Regions from separate parts of the Homo sapiens genome. Here region 2 is linked to region 1. Evidence: promoter capture Hi-C in human tissues and cell types (Jung and others, 2019). All regions are on one chromosome and are shown on one strand. The core of a region is centred on a gene start or on the middle of the fragment in contact, and the rest is flanking DNA. Distances in the headings are between cores, read along the strand shown.

Region 1 (5,512 bases), core at 1,763-4,262:
TTGAGTGGTATGGACATATTAAACATTTTAATTCTTCCAATCCATGAGTATGGGATATTTTTCCATTTATTTGTGTCTTCTTCTATTTCTTTCTTCAATGTTTTATAATTTTCAGCATACAGATCTTTCGCCTTCTTGGTTAAATGTAGTCCCAACTCAAAACAACAAAACAAATAACCCAGTTTAAAAATGAGTAAAGAACCTGCATTTCTGGACATTTTTCCAAAGAAGACATATAAATGGCCAGTGGGTATGTTAAAATGTGCTCAACATCACCAATCACAGAAAAATGCAAACAAAAATTACAAGGAGATATCACTTCACATCTTAGAAGAGCTATAATAAAAAAGACACAAGATAACGAGTATTTCTGAAGATGTGGAGAGAAGGTAATCCTTGTACAATATGGTGGAAATGTAAATTGGTTCAGCCATTATGAAAAACAGTATGGAAGTTTCTCAAAAAATTAAAAAAGGACTATCATATGATCCAGCAATCCCACTCCTTGGTATATATCCAAATTAAATGAAATCAGTATCTCAAAGAGATATCTGCACTCTTATGTTACAATAATCAAGATACAGAAACAACCTAAGTTGGGGCCAGGTATGGTGGCTCATGCCTGTAATCACAGTACTTTGGGAGGCTGAGGCGGGTGGATCACTTGAGCCCAGATGGATCCACCAACAGATGGATAAGTAAAGAAACATATATATAATGGTATATTATTCAGCCTTAAAAAAGAAGGAGGTCCTGCTGTTTGCAACAATATGGATGAACCTCAGCTGGGCATGGTGGCTCATGGCTGTAATCCCAGCACTTTGAGAGGCCAAGGTGGGTGGATCGCCTGAGGTCAGGAGTTCGAGACCGGCCTGACCAACATGGTGAAACCCCATCTCTACTAAAAATATAGAAAATTTAAGCGGTGTGGTGGCATGCACCTGTAGTCCCGACTATTCGGGAGGCTGAGTCCGGAGAATTGCTTGAACCCAGCAGGCAGAGGTTGCAGTGAGCTGAGATCGTGCCACTGCACTCCAGCCTGGGCAACAGAGACAGACTCAGTCTCAAAACAAAAAACAAACAAACAAAAAATGTGGTACACTTTAAATACAGTAGTCCTCCCTTACCTGCAGTTTCATGTTCTTAGGTTTCAGTTACTCACAGTTAACTGCAGTCTGAAAATATTATAGTATTTTGAGAGAGAGAGAGAGAAATTATATTCACACTTTTATTTCAGCATCATTTTATAATTGTTCTATTTTATTTTGAGTTATTATTGCTAATCTCTTGCTGTGCCTAATTTGTAAACTAAACTTTATTATAGGTATGTATACATGTATGGGGAAACCAGTATATGTAGGGTTCAGTACTAACCTATCCCAGGTTTCAGGCATCCACTGGGAGTCTTAGAAAGTATCACCCATGGATAAGGAGGGGCTATATAGACATTAATTTTTATAAAAAAAATAAATGGGGGCTGCTTTGCCTATAGAGTAGCCATTCTTTTATTCCTTTTTTTCTTAATAAATGTGCTTTCATTTTAAAAAATAAAAAATAATGAATAAATAAATAAATGGGGCCAGGTACGGTGGCTCACGCCTGTAATCCCAGTACTTTGGGAGGCTGAGGTGGGTGGATCACTTGAGCCCAGGAGTTTGAGACCCAGCATGGACAATGTAGTGAGACCTCATCTCTACAAAAAATAGCTGGATGTGGTGGCTCATGTCTGTTGTCCCAGCTACTCAGCAGCTGAGGCAGGAGGATTGATTGAGCTCAGGAGGTTGAGGCTGCAGTGAGCCGTCATCAAGCCACTGCACTGCAACCTGGGCAACAAAGCGAGACACTGTCTAAAAATAAAAATAAAAATAGAAATAAAAATAAATAAATGAAGACTCTTGCCTTGGATGCAACCCCTCATATGCAGCTGGCTGCTACCTAGTGCTTAGAACTCTTTCTGCCTATATGTGTTAGACACATAGTAAATGATAATTAAAGAGAGAATAAAGTTGAGGACCTAATTCACATTAAAATATAAGCAGTTTGTTGGATCTACTTATCTCAACATATCTGCATTTTAATAAAAAATTATACCTTAACATTCCAAAATTGATCTCAAAAGGTGACATTTTACATTCATCTACTGTTCTTTGGAAAGATAATTTGGGGCAATTGAGCTGCTTTCTTTGTGATCCCCAAAAACTGTTACAGAAGAATGAAGAGGACAAGAGCTCAGTATCTATATATATGAGCACACATCCAAACGTTTATAAACTTTTATGTCTAGGAAGAATGTATTTGCTCTCAGTATATGACCCAACATATGAGTAAGGAGTCTTTTTTTTTTTTGAGACAGTCTCGCTCTGTCACCCAGGCTGGAGTGTAGTGAGATGATCCTGGCCCACTGCAACATCCGCCTCCCGGGTTCAAGTAATTCTCCTGCCTCAGCCTTCCAAGTGGCTGGGATTACAGGCACTCTTTACCATGCCCAGCTAGTTTTTGTATTTTTAGTGGAGATGGGATTTCACCATGTTGGCCAGGCTGATCTCGAACTCCTGACCTCGAGATCTGCCTTGGCCTCCCAAAGTGCTGGGATTACAGGCTTGAGCCACCATGCCTGTCCGAGTAAGGAGTCTTAAAGGATGCATTAAGGTTTGTGAGTAACCCGGGTCTTCTCTGGATAATCTCCGTGCTCAGGCACCTCTCTTTTTCTACTCCGAGCATTGAACAGGGGCAGAAGGAAGCAAGCCATGAGAGAGAGGGACAAGTGTAACCAGAAGGTCCTCAAGGGTCCAAAAGCAGAGCTCCTGAGAGCACAAATTCCCACAGGTGCATACTAAAAAATATTTATGTTTCTACTTTGGCAGAACTCAATTAGTTCCCAGTGTACTGGAATGAAATGGAACAATGAGACCCACCTCACTAAAAACCTAGGCTCCTGTCCAGAACTTTCCAGTCTGTGAGAGAGCAGTGGGCAGAAGGAGATGATAAAAGTAGGTAGAACTTAGCTCTGTATATATAGGCCCAGAACTCGAGAGGCCTGTGAGGGAGAGGAGAGCAGAGAGGTCCTGAGTATTGCTCTTCACGCTTCAGTCGGACAGGCCTGTATTCCATGGGAAAGTCCATTGGCCATTTTTAACTGGGGCTATTTCTTTTCTCTTATGGACTATATCAGGCCACAGTGGTCTCCAAGGGCATGATACTCAAAGGTTGTCTCCTGTATCCTTTGTGCTCTCCCAGGAATAAGCAAAGATGTGCCAGGCTGTGGAAAATAGCCTATGGAGGATTACTAAAGATAGTGACTGGCTCCCTCTTAACATTTTATGTGGTTCTCTGTCTTGATGGCGGGATGGTGCTCATGAGGAAGCAAGTGCCATCAAGGTTCATGTACCCCAAAGAGTGGCAGCACCTCACCATGTTCATCCTCCTCACTCTTAATGGCTGTGTGGACTTCATGAGCAAGAATGTGCTGCCTCAGAGGTGTGTGGGCCTAGAAAAAGGTACCCTGGTCCTGATCATCTACGAGCTCCTGCTGCTGATGGTGTCACATGTTAAAGATTCAGAAGGGGTGGAGCTGCACGTTTATTCTCTGCTCATCTTGGTGGTGTTCCTGCTGTTGCTGGTGTTGACTGCAGAGCTGTGGGCTCCCAACATGTGTCATCTCCAGCTGATGGAGACCTTTCTGATTCTGATGATGGGCTCCTGGCTGATGCAGGCAGGCTTTATTCTATACAGACCCGTCTCTGGCTACCCATGGCAGGACGATGACATCAGTGACATCATGTTTGTCACCACCTTCTTCTGCTGGCATGTGATGATCAATGCCTCATTCCTGTTGGGAATCTATGGCTTCTCTTCCTTTTGGTATCATTGTTTCAGACCCAGCTTGAAGCTGACTGGGCCCAAAGAAGCTCCATATTATGCAAGCACTCCAGGACCCCTCTACAAGTTGCTACAGGAAGTGGAGCAGTCAGAGAAAGAGGACCAGGCTCTCCTCCTTCCAAAGAGCTCCCCCTGAGACAGGGCCTACAGTGGCTGGCACATCGTCCACCTCATCTTCCTCCTGTTGGCTCCTCAGCCACGAGCATGGTACCCTCCTTGGTAAAGGTAATGGCCTTGAAGGCTAGCAGTTGGTCCCGTCTGCTGGTTCATTTTCTTTTCTTCTCTTTTCTTTTTTTTTTTTTTTGAGACAGAGTCTCGCTCTGTTGCCCAGCCTGGAGTGCAATGGCACAATCTCAGCTCAGTGCAACCTCCGCCTCCCGAGTTCAAGCGATTCTCCTGCCTCAGCCTCCCGAGTAGCTGCAATTACAGGAGCCTGCCACCATGCCCGTGCTGGTGCATTTTCTGTCCCTGAGCCTCTAATTACTGAGAAGATAAGGGGAGAGGGATTGAGAAAGAGACGCTGATGGGATTTGCGGGAGGGAGGGAAAAGGACGAGGAGAACACTTCTTCTTAGTGTGCAAGAAAAGCCACTGGGGGAAGAGAATGCAACAAAAGGAAGAGCTGTGAAGGGAGGAGAACAGAGTCTAGCAGTTATGCTGTCATTAGCGTCATCAGGCACAAGGGATTGCCTTTTACCTGAGGGAATAAAGACTTCTCACAACTCAAAACTGGACCCATTCAAATCTCATCTTGATAAAGAAAAGTGGGTACTTTACGTGCTCACCAAAGTGGTGCCACCATGTGGAAATAGCATGATAGAATTTATAATTAATTCATACAGGCTGAAATTATGCTCGCTTTGCCTCCTTCTCTCTCCGCAGCTTTCAAGAATTGGCTTCATTTCAAACTTTACATATAAAGTGAGACTTTTTAAATACTTAATAACATTTCAAATTTCCATAATTTAAATTTGTATAGAATTCAACTGCTATAGCATTTTTATAGCATTCAAATGCTTGGTACTTCCCTGACTTCTCATTTTATTACTCTTATTCTAGCCCAAACTTTCCTTTTCACCATGACCACCCTTGCACATGCAATTTAGCAGATACCATTCTTGGGTCTTTGCAAATTTCTTTTCCTTGCAAATCACAGCCAGTCATCCTACAGTCACATATTTACCATGTTATTCGATTCCCAGAATAAACCTACATCCACCCCCACACCGCACCAAGTATCCCCAAGGTGGCCTTCTCCAGAACTCTTACTGATTCCCTTGTTTTGGAACTCTTGGGCACTTACATTAAATCTGCTTTGTTAGTTTGCTCATACAGGTGACCCACTTTCTTTTATACTGCTGCTGAAATCATTTTCTTTCAGAAGGTTCTTCCTCACCCACTAAAGTACAGGCTCCTAAAGGGAAAAGACTTTGCCTTATCCAAGTTACCAAATTTCCTATGTATACTCCAGCTATGGATCATGGTTATGTTTAATAAAGCCTTCTTTGCTTCCAGAGTCTTCCCTAATCCTGTTTCTTCTAAATGTATTGCTGGACAGGTTGGAGGTTTTGTGAATCTCTCTGGGTGACAACAACAGTCCTGAACACTGAGTCACTGCCTTAGTAATGCACCCA
Region 2 (5,512 bases), core at 1,892-4,391, 33 kb after region 1:
AAATCTATTTGGAATGGCTGAGTAGGGATTCTAATGGTATTACTAAAGCCACCAGGCCATGTCTCAGCACCACCATTATTGGCTTCAGATTTAATTTGATTAAAGCAAATGAAATAAAGTGACATGGTGTGGGTGCAAATTCAGAACCCTCTAACCTGTTACTGGCATCTGCTTCTGGTGTCTAGCCAAGTTCCTAGAAGATAATCAGTAAATGTTGTTGAAGGAGTGGATGAATTCTTAGGGATCTAAGCTATTTGCTTGTATTCCTCTATCTTTTGAGCTTGTGCTTTAAAAAATTATAAGCTCTACAAAATTCTATATGATAAAAGACTTTATCTGAAAAGTCTATTGTTGGCCGAGCATGGTGTTTCACGCTTGTAATCCCAGCACTTTAGGAGGCTGAAGCGGGTACAAAAATTAGCCAGGCGTGGTGGCATGAGCCTGTGGTCCTAGCTACTGGGGAGGCTGAGGTGGGACAATCACCTGAGCCCAGGAGGTTGAAGCTACAGTGAGCCAAAATTGTGCCACTGCACTCCAGCCTGGGCAATTGGAATGAGATCCTGTCCCCTGCCCCTCACCCAAAAAAAAGGTCTGTTGTTTTTTTTCCCTGCATTGTAGTTGTTGCATGCTAAGTTGTGTTGACTCATTTAATTGAACAATAACTCTATGAGGTAGTGTTACTATTACTATCCCCATTTTATTATTATTATGTGTGTGTGTGTGTGTGTGTGTGTGTGTGTGTGTGTGTGTTTGAGACTGAGTCCCACTCTATTGCCCTTGAGTGCAGTGGCACCATCTCTGTTCACTGCAACTTCTGCCTCCCAGGTTCAAGTGATTCTCTTGCTTCAGCCTCCTGAGTATCTGAGATTATAGGTACCTGCCACCACAACTGGCTAATTTTTGTATTTTTGGTAGAGATGGGGTTTCACCATATTGGCCAGGCTGGTCGCGAACTCCTGACCTCAAGTGATCTGCCTGCCTCAGTCTCCCAAAGGGCTGGGATTACAGGCATGAGCCACTGTGCTTGGCCTTACTATCCTCATTTTATAGAGAAGAAAATTGAGGTACTTAAAGGTTAAATGACTTGCCAATGACCAAACACTGGTAAGAAGCAGTAAGGATCTGATCCCAGGTAGTGTAGCCCTGCAGTTTGCTAGGACTCAGAGTCTTTTTTTCTCATCCTTAAAATGGCAGTGAGAACTTCCCTATGTATACCATTGTATGAATGCGACAACAGCGTGTGTTTATTTTAGTTGCAAGAGTTACGGATCTCTTTCTGTTTTAATTTTTTGTGACATGGCACCGTTTTATTTTAGAAACTATATTCTTCTGCCAGACAACATGACTCGTGCCCGTAATTTCAGCACTTTGGGAGGCTGAAGTGGGAGGATCCCTTGAGCCCAGGAGTTTGAGACTAGCCTGGGCAACATAGAAAGACCCCATGTCTAATAAATAAATAAATAAATAAATAAATAAATAGCCAGGTATGGTGGTGCACGTTTGTCATCCCAGCTACTCAGGAGGCTGGGGTGGGAGAATCACTTGAGCTCAGGAGTTTGGGCTGTAGTGAGCTATGATCATGTCACTTCAGCCTAAGCAAGAGTGACACTGTGACTCAAAAAGAAGAAGAACAACAAAAAAGAAACTGTATTCTTGGTGCGTGGTCCTTTGCTTTCATGTCACAGAAAAGGCACATTTATAACTCAGGGAAGTTTGACTTCTTGGTGCCTCCGTGTTCTGTCTTCTCCCTTGCAAAGCAGAGCCGTCCAGTTTTTAATGAACACTGACTGGGAGGTGACTTTCTGCTGGGATAGAGAAGGGAGAGAACAAGAGAAGATCCTGAAGGAAATATGTCATATCCTTTTTCGCTTTCCTTTGTGATCTGAAAAGACTTAAGCGTAACAAAGATGGCTCTAATATATTTTTAAAGTACTGCAGTGGGAGATAAAATAAACAGATGGGAGGGAACACAAACAGCTTGAATTTTCCCCTATGATTCTCACTGTTCACTGGGCTCCCTCCATCTAAGTACTACGGGATAGCAAACCTGTCGCAGCTTCAGGATATTCCTATAAGGCAGGTAGAGGGGAGATTCGAGTAAAGAAAGGAACACAGCATTTAAGGGTGGTGTCCCTGAAGTCTCTAAAATGCTTTCTCAATATGAAAGTGGCAATTAGTATGCAGCGAGTATATTCTTTGGCCACATATGTTTTGCTTTTCAAAAAGCAAAGCACTTATTTGCATGCTATTTGTTTTTAACTGTCAGGGAGACACTAGACTAAGCTAGAAATAAACTTTCACCTTCCTTCCACCTTTTCCTCAAACATCACAACCATAGAAGAGTCAGTCCTCTGAAATTCCAAACTACCCAAGCCAAAGACTTCTGTGTTCTTAGCACCATTTCCTTTCTATACCTGCAGTATGAGATAATTGTAAACTTTAAAAATCACTCTAGACCTAACTCCAGAGGAGGGAGAGAGGGAGTATGTATTTTTATGAACCATCTCAAATGGTTCTTATTAGTTCAGTTCAGGAAATACCTAACAGCCGGCTTTAGAGTGCTGAGCAAAACCTTGATTTTGGACTCCAAGGACTTTTGGTCACTCTCCATCTGGCACTGATTTACTTAAATTCATCCAGATTAATTTTTTTATACTTGTAGAGTGGGAATTATAATACTCTAAACTGCAGATGAGAGCTTGTTGCTAAAAGCCTAGTCCCCTCCTCCGTACATTAAGACTATTCTGGACCATACTTTGAGCTGATTACCCAAGACCAATTCCATCAAGCCCCCTTCCCTGTTTTTCTGTTTTGTTTGGTTTTTTTTTTTGTTTTTGAGATGGAGTCTCGCTTTGTCACCCAGGCTGGAGTGCAATGGCATGATCTTGACTTACTGCAACCTCTGCCTCCCAGGTTCAAACGATTCTCCTGCCTCAGCCTCCCAAGTAGCTGGGACTACATGTGCGCACCACCATGCCCAGCTAATTTTGTATTTTTTAGTAGAGACGGGGTTTCACCATACTGGACGGACTGGTCTCAAACTCCTGACCTTGTGATCCACCTGCCTCGGCCTCCCAAAGTGCTGGGATTACAGGCATGAGCCACCACACCTGGCCTTCCCTGTTTTTCTGAATTCAGCAGAGCTTCAAACCTCAAATTTTATCACAGGGTCTTCACACCTACACTGCTCCACACAGTCCTTAATGCGGACCAATGTACTCTTCTCTTCCTCATATCACACCTTTCTAACTGTGCTCCCTGGGGCCCCTGGTTTGTGGCTTTGTTTAAAGTCCTAACTTATTCTCTGCACATTCCCCCCATCTCATTGTCTTAACAGACAAGGCTTTCCTTCACGGCCAGCTGGACGTATGAGTCCAGAGCTCTTGGCTTCCCAGATATCTCCATGGGTTCTTGGCTCTTCCTCATCCTCCACACCACATCTGGCCTTTCCTTTTCAATCTCTTTACCTGGCTTCTCCTCCTTTGACTGGCTCCAACCTCTAAATTTTTGAGATTTTCCAGAGCTCTGTTCTAGACTGTTTTTAATGTACTTCTCTCCATAAGTAATCTCATTCCGTTTACATGTCCCAATCTTTAGTTTCAGTCCATATCTCTCTCTTGGGCTCTGACTTGTACATCCCACTACCTACTTGACAACCCCACTTGGATTTCTCCCTTTTTTCATTTTTTATGACACCACACCATTGAATGGATTTCTAATAAGAATCTAAAACTTGAATATGTCCAATATGGAACTACTGATTTCAGAGCCCTTACCTTCCTTCCTTCCTTCCTTCCTTTATTACTTTCTTCCTTCCTCCCTCCCTCCCTTCCTCCCTTTCTCTCTCTCTCTCTTTCTTTCTTTTTGAGGCGAGGTCTTGCTCTGTCACCCAGGCTGGAGTACATGCAGTGATGCAATCATGCCTCACGCCAGCCTTGACCTCCTGGGCTCAAGCAATTCTCTTACCTCAACCTCTTGAGTAGCTGGGACCACAGGCATGTATCACCATGCCCTGCCAATTTTTAAACTTTTGTGGCAACAGAGTCTCACTATGTGGCCAGGCTGATCTCAAACTCCTAGACTCAAGCAATCCTCCAGCCTCAGCCTCCCACAGTCTTGGGATTACAGGTGTCAGCCACCACACTTGGCCTCAGACCCTCTTTCTAAGACTCTTCTTCCTTATCTCTCTGGCACCTTCCATTGTTACCCTACACCTGGTGATGAACCTTGATTTCTCCTTTCCACTTATGGCATGCTTTCTCCCCATCTTGTCCATCAGCAAATAGTGCACATTTTATTGACAATTATATTTTGAATCCTTCCATTTTTATCCTCTCTACCATCAATTTCTAGTCCAAGTCACCATCATCTCTCAGTCGTAATTATATTATACCTCATAAATGGTCTTTCTTCTTCAACTGTAATCTTTAATTAATTCCCCAACAGCAACCAGAGTAATCTTTTAGAAACCTAAATCAGATTATGTCCCATCTTTCCTCAAAATTTTTTTTTTTTTTTGAGACAGAGTCTTGCTCTGTTGCCCAGGCTGGAGCTCAGTGGTGTGATCTTGGCTCACTGCAACCTCTGCCTCCCAGGTTGAAGCGATTCTCGTGCCTCAGCCTCCCGAGTAGCTGAGATTACAGGCATGCACCACTACTCCTGGCTAATTTTTGTATTTTAAGTAAAGATGAAGTTTCGCCATGTTGATTCAGGCTGGTCTTGAACTCCTGGCCTCAAGTAATCCACCCGCCTTGGGCTCCCAAAGTGCTGGGATAACAGGTGTGAGCCACTGTGCCCAGCCTCCTCAAGCTTTCTAATGGCTCTCCGCCATTGTTGTAATGAAGTTCAAACTCCATTCTCTCATCTCTTAGACCCTGTACTGATCTGGACCCTCCCTGCTTCTCCAGCTTCATGTCAGAGCAGGGTGCACTTGCTCCTTGTATTCAGCTCCACTGTCCTGCTTTCAGTTCTCAGGCCACTCCAAGACAATGACCTTTGAATTTGCTGCTTCTTCAGGCCCAAGAGGATCATCCTGAAGTTCCAAGAAGAGCTGTCTGATTCTCACAGGTCTCAGAGAAGCCTTCTATCATCACATCATCTAACACCTCTACTCTTTCCTCTGTTAGGTTCCATCACATCAACTTTAGGATTTCTTTTAGGACAAGTATTATAATTAGCACAATGTTATCATCCTTCTTATTCATTTCTGCGTTTGTTATCTGTATTCTTTAGAATAATTATTATTTCCAGTATGATATACTAGAAAGAGTTTGGGACTTGTAATCTAGATTAATTTTAGGTGTCATTATCTATTACAAGATCTTGGCAATTTACTGTCTCTGTGCCTTGCTTTTCTCATCAGTAGAATAAGGTTAATGTAGAATTGTAAGGTTGTTGTTAGGATTGATGACATAACATCTATAAAATATTGCTAAAGATAATTTTTCCTACTACTGAACACTGGGTGTGGCATTTCTAAAGATGTTCACATTCACAAAATTACGTCCCAATA

What was found. Contacts are between HindIII fragments. The study calls those that stand out against the background at their distance.
Region 2: a contact is called between a fragment that was not itself captured here and the fragment with the promoter of TEDDM1 in region 1, in 1 of the 25 tissues and cell types used here (hippocampus).

The regions. Positions count from the first base shown.
Region 1 is chr1:182,398,167-182,403,678 of GRCh38, reverse strand. It overlaps TEDDM1 (transmembrane epididymal protein 1), which reads left to right and starts at 3,012. Exons shown (of 1, transcript NM_172000.4): 1 at 3,012-5,512. The coding sequence starts at 3,194. The coding sequence ends at 4,015. The HindIII fragment of the contact is 14,950 bases long and covers 1-5,512 here.
Region 2 is chr1:182,365,213-182,370,724 of GRCh38, reverse strand. No RefSeq gene overlaps it. Among named protein-coding and RNA genes, the nearest start is that of GLUL, 24 kb to the left of the region's middle. The HindIII fragment of the contact is 9,592 bases long and covers 1-5,512 here.